Regions from separate parts of the Homo sapiens genome. Here region 2 is linked to region 1. The links are contacts of gene promoters, found by promoter capture Hi-C in human tissues and cell types (Jung and others, 2019). All regions are on one chromosome and are shown on one strand. Each heading gives the region's core, a stretch centred on a gene start or on the middle of the fragment in contact. The rest is flanking DNA. Distances are from core to core; before and after follow the strand shown.

What was found. The method cuts DNA at HindIII sites, captures the fragments that hold promoters and counts their contacts. A contact is called where the count stands out against the background at its distance.
Region 2: a contact is called between a fragment that was not itself captured here and the fragment with the promoter of TEAD4 in region 1, in 1 of the 25 tissues and cell types used here (dorsolateral prefrontal cortex).

The regions. Positions count from the first base shown.
Region 1 is chr12:2,958,041-2,960,740 of GRCh38, forward strand. TEAD4 (TEA domain transcription factor 4) reads left to right here and starts at 1,357. Exons shown (of 13, transcript NM_003213.4): 1 at 1,357-1,441; 2 at 1,908-2,000. It overlaps LOC124902859 (a long non-coding RNA gene), which reads right to left and starts at 2,008. Exons shown (of 2, transcript XR_007063159.1): 1 at 1,701-2,008; 2 at 1-185. RefSeq lists an enhancer at 1,527-2,262. The HindIII fragment of the contact is 29,957 bases long and covers 1-2,700 here.
Region 2 is chr12:1,957,287-1,959,986 of GRCh38, forward strand. All of the region lies in intron 5 of DCP1B (decapping mRNA 1B), which reads right to left. Among named protein-coding and RNA genes, the nearest start is that of LINC00940, 22 kb to the left of the region's middle. The HindIII fragment of the contact is 3,913 bases long and covers 1-2,700 here.

The DNA of each region.
Region 1 (2,700 bases), core at 107-2,606:
ACGCCTTCACCTTGCAGGACTGGATGCTTAGCTCAGTCATTGCTTGAAACACTTTTGGAATACCTCTCTTGGAAACAACTTTGGCATCGATAGCACTTTCCTTTCAATATCTTCCACGGTAGCAATTGTTTTTCATTTATGCAGCATTTATCATGCACTTCCCTATCCCAGGCACCAGGCTGGATCTGTGTGAAAGATAAGATAAATCAGACATTACTCTGTCTTCAAGGAAGTTTCTGTTTGGCAAGGGAGATAAGATCTAGACAACCACCCAACACAAGGCTAAGTGATAATGCCCCAGAAAAGGTTGGATTTGATTTTTGGAAAAAGCCAAAAGTCCTTTGGTTTCAGTCTCCTGGCCAGGTAGATGATGGCGCTACCTGCCAGCACACTGCTTTAAGCCCGTTTGTCCTAAGCGTCTCCAAACAAGGAGCCCAGCGTGTTTCCAGCACCTCCTGCCCCAATAAGAGACTCCTGGGCATGTGTGTCTGAAGTCCAGACTCTCACCGATGGCAGTATACACCGAGGCCTCCCCAGCTAAACTCTGAGCTCTTTGAGGGCAGGTGCTGACGGCTGATCCTGATCTTCACAGTATCTGGACTCATCACACATCTTAGATGAATATTCATTGAGTCACTGAGCCCAGAAGGCGTCCCATGGCATGCCACATGGACTTCAAACCGAGTGCCCTTTCTCCCATGTGGTTTACTCGTAGTGGCGGTTTTACAGATGCCCAAGGGGCAGGAGAGAAAAACGGAAAGAGCTAAAGCCGGGGAGGGCAAGCGAGGGGGCACTGGCAGCGGATCTGGGAATGGAGCCCGCGAGTTCCTGCTTCCTGGTTCCCCGGAGCAAGTGTCCTTTGGTGGGAGCCGCAGGAAGGGAGCAGCCCTTCCTGCGCGCCGGGAGCCCGCCCCTTCCCCGGCCTCCCAGGGACTCGTGCGGAGGGACGCCGGGTGGCGGGGCGGGAGTCTGGGCCCCGTCCACCCCCCCGCCCCCGGGACAGCCCCACCCCGGCGAAGAGGAAGGCTCTCGGCTCCTGGGAAAGGGAGTCGGGACCCCGCCAGGAGGGGAGGGCGCGGGGCGCGCAACGAGCAGCCAAACAGTCGGAGCGGAGAGATCGAAGGGCTAGTGGGCGTGGGGGCCGCAGCCGAGGCCCGGGTGGAGGGGTCCCCGCCGTCCCTCGGCCCCCTCCCCCGCCGCCCGCCCCGGCCCGGCCCGGCCCCGCCCCGCCCCGGCGGCCCGGCCCCTCGCCCGCCCGCGCGCGGCGCAGTCTCCTCCCCGAGGTGCCGGTGGCCCCGCCGCCACTCCCTCCGGCTCCCTCCCTCCCGCCGCGGCGCGCATCTCATTCCAGCCCTCATTCCGCGCATTCCAGCGTCCTCCTCGCACACTCGAGGCCAGGGGGCGGGAGGGCCGCAGCTCCGGCGCCGCCGCGTCCCGCCAGGTGAGAGGCGCCCGCGCCCGCCGCACCCGCCGGCGCCCTCACGGGCCGCGCGCCCCACGCCGCCGCAGCCGACCGCTCGCGCCGCGTGCTCGGCTGCTCTTTTCTTTCCGCCGCCCGCGTTCCCGCCTTGGACCTCTGCGCTCCGACGCGCTCCGTCCCGACCTCTGGCTTCCCTCCGCGCTCCGGCGCTGCTCGCTGCCCCTCTCCCGCTTCCCTCCTGTCCGCCCCGCGCTCCCCTCCTCGCTCCCGGTTGACTCACTCCTCCAGGAATAGGGATCCCCGTGTTTTCCCGTCAGTCCCATTCTGGGAAAACTCCTCCCTCCGCGCGCTCCGCTCCGCTCCGCTGGGCGCACCGGGGCCGGTCGGCGCGGGGTGGGCTTGGCCCCGCGGCCCCGCCTTCACTGCGCCGCCCGTCGGCCCCGGCCGGAGCCCGGCTCTGCGCGCTGACGCCCTGTCGTCCCCGCAGAACGATCGCCGCGGCCGGAAGAGTTGGCGCTCGGGGCGGACTCCTTGGAACTGGCTTAGCGCACCCATCCCACCTTCCCGCACCCTGGGACCGGTAAGGCTGGGGCGCGGGGACTTGGTAGGACTTTGCCGGAGGGCAGGAGTCTGCGCGGTGCGTGCGGAGCTCCCTCCCGGGACGAGACTGGGAAGAGCGAGGCACGTGGAGGCGGCGCGACTGAGGCTGCTGGAGGCGAAGCGGCTCCAGGGGCGGGTAAGGGGGGTGGACACTCGGGACTTTGGGGGAAAGGGAGGCCGGTGTGGAAAGGACCGGAGAGGCAGAACCGAGAGCATCGGCAACAGAAGAGACCCAGCACCCATGCCTCTTTTCTGCTGGGCCCTTTTCGAGCCTGGAAGGGAGAGACCTGGAGGTAAGCGGACTGCCTGTTTTAAGTGCAAAGGCGATGCGAAAGTCGGGGGACCCCTGCAAAAGGTCCTACACCTCAGGGCTTGGGAAGCTGCTGTGTTTCCTGATGGGGACTAGTGGATCGATCCAGGGAGCAGAACTTTCAAACCCCAAAGTGAACATTTCCCCCGTTGTGCTGAGGCACTTGAGGCCCCGCGGACTGACTGCGTCTGTGCTGAGTCTGTGTGACACCTGACTGCGAGTCCCCCTCGCTTTGAGTCTCTGTGTGGGTGATGTCTGTTCACGTGTGGCTCACCTTGGCTTCCAGTGGGCGTATTTGTTTGTGTTGAACGTGAGTGACAGAGTGTGTGTATATGTCTGCGTGAGAAGGGGCTGTCTGAAAGTGAGTATC
Region 2 (2,700 bases), core at 20-2,519, 1.0 Mb before region 1:
AATACAATAAAACCTCAAAAAGTATGTCATATAATCCAGTTTTAATCACACACAAACACATACATACATAAACATATGTATTTATGCCAAGAGAGATGTTTGAAACAAAATACAATAAAAGTATAAAAAGTTTCTATCTTCAGTTTATAGGATTATTGGTGATTTTTCTTTTTATATTCTTTTGAATTCTATCATTCAACAAAAAAATTTCTATAATTTCATAAATAACTCACAGCTATATCCAGAAAAGAGCCAATAATTCTTGTCTTAAACCACAAAACACAAATAGTCCACTTCTGAATACTCCAAGCTTAACTATGCAGCCTGTAGATCATTTCTGGTCCTGCCTCTTGTTCTTACTAAAATTTGGTTATTTTACTGTTCACTTGCATCTCAACTAGAAATTGAATAGGGCGGAGATAAAAAGAGATGAAATGCAAATTAACATCTTTTCTACTTTAAAGCAGATTCACAGAAAGTTATTTCTCAAAAGAGAATGCACAAAATTTCAGCCAAAATAAGTTTTCAAATTATTTTATTAACCTCCTGTAAACTAGACAGACTTCACTTTACCCATATCATATATACTGATAGCTCAACATTTTTCCTACTTCCACTTCTTGGGATGTTCACAAATTTAAGAATTCTAGAGAGACTTAAGCGTAAGGCCTGAGACTATAAACCTCCTGGAAGGAAACAGGGGAAAAGCTCCCCAACGTCGCTCTGGGCAGACTTTTTCTATAAACCTCCTGGAAGGAAACAGGGGAAAAGCTCCCCAACGTCGCTCTGGGCAATGGCTTTTTCTATGAACCTCCTGGAAGGAAACAGGGGAAAAGCTCCCTAACGTCGCTCTGGGCAATGACTTTTTCTATAAACCTCCTGGAAGGAAACAGGGGAAAAGCTCCCTAACGTTGCTCTGGGCAATGACTTTTTCTATAAACCTCCTGGAAGGAAACAGGGGAAAAGCTCCCCAACGTTGCTCTGGGTAATGACTTTTTCTATAAACCTACTGGAAGAAGACAGGGGAAAAGCTCCCTAACGTCGCTCTGGGCAATGGCTTCTTCTATAAACCTCCTGGAAGAAGACAGGGGAAAAGCTCCCTAACGTCGCTCTGGGCAATGGCTTTTTCTATAAACCTCCTGGAAGGAAACAGGGGAAAAGCTCCCTAACGTCGCTCTGGGCAATGGCTTTTTCTATAAACCTCCTGGAAGAAGACAGGGGAAAAGCTCCCTAACGTCGCTCTGCGCAATGGCTTTTTCTATAAACCTCCTGGAAGAAGACAGGGGAAAAGCTCCCTAACGTCGCTCTGGGCAATGACTTTTTCTATAAACCTCCTGGAAGGAGACAGGGGAAAAGCTCCCCAACGTCGCTCTGGGCAATGACTTTTTCCATAAACCTCCCGGAAGGAGACAGGGGAAAAGCTCCCCAACGTCGCTCTGGGCAATGACTTTTTCTATAAACCTCCCGGAAGGAAACAGGGGAAAAGCTCCCCAACGTCGCTCTGGGCAATGGCTTTTTCTATAAACCTCCTGGAAGGAAACAGGGGAAAAGCTCCCCAACGTCGCTTTGGGCAATGACTTTTTCTATAAACCTCCTGGAAGGAAACAGGGGAAAAGCTCCCCAACGTCGCTCTGGGCAATGACTTTTTCTATAAACCTCCTGGAAGGAAACAGGGGAAAAGCTCCCCAACGTCGCTCTGGGCAATGACTTTTTCTATAAACCTCCTGGAAGGAAACAGGGGGAAAGCTCCCCAACGTTGCTCTGGGCAATGACTTTTTCTATAAACCTCCTGGAAGGAAACAGGGGGAAAGCTCCCCAACGTCGCTCTGGGCAATGACTTTTTCTATAAACCTCCTGGAAGGAAACAGGGGAAAAGCTCCCTAACGTTGCTCTGGGCAATGGCTTTTTCGATGTGACCCTAAGGACAGGCAACAAAAGCAAGAGACACACAGGATTACATCCAACCCAAGGCTGTTGCATAGCAAAGGAAACAGCAGAGTGAAGAGATGACCTATGGAGTGGAGGAAGATACCTGCACAACATACATACGATAAGAGATTCATGTCCAAAGTAGATAAGGAACTCAAACAACTCAACAGTAAGAAAAGAAAACAAATGTTCTGATCAAAATATAGACAAAGGGCCTGAGTGGACATTTTTCAAAAGAAGACATACATGTGGCCAATAGGTATGTGAAAAATGCTCGACATCGCTAATCATCAGGGAAATGCAAATTAAAACCACAGTGAAATATCACCTCAAACCTGGTAGAATGTCTACCATCAAAAAGGCAAAACATAAGTGGTGGCAAGGATGTACAGAAAAGGAAATCCTTGTATACTGTTGGTGGGAATATTAGTTAGCATAGCTATTATGGAAAATAGCATGTTGGGCCAGGTGCAGTGGCTCACGCCTGTAATCCCAGCACTTTGTGAGGCTGAGGCGGGCGGATCACGAGGTCAGCAGATCGAGACCATCCTGGCTAACACGGTGAAACCCCGTCTCTACTAAAAATACAAAAAAATTATCCGGGCATGGTGGAGGGCGCCTGTAGTCCCAGCTACTTGGGAGGCTGAGGTAGGAGAATGGCGTGAACCCAGGAGGTAGAGCTTGCCATGAGCCAAGATTGCTCCACTGCACTCCAGCTTGGGTGACAGAGCAAGACTCCGTCTCAAAAAAAAAAAAAAAAATTTATGTTGG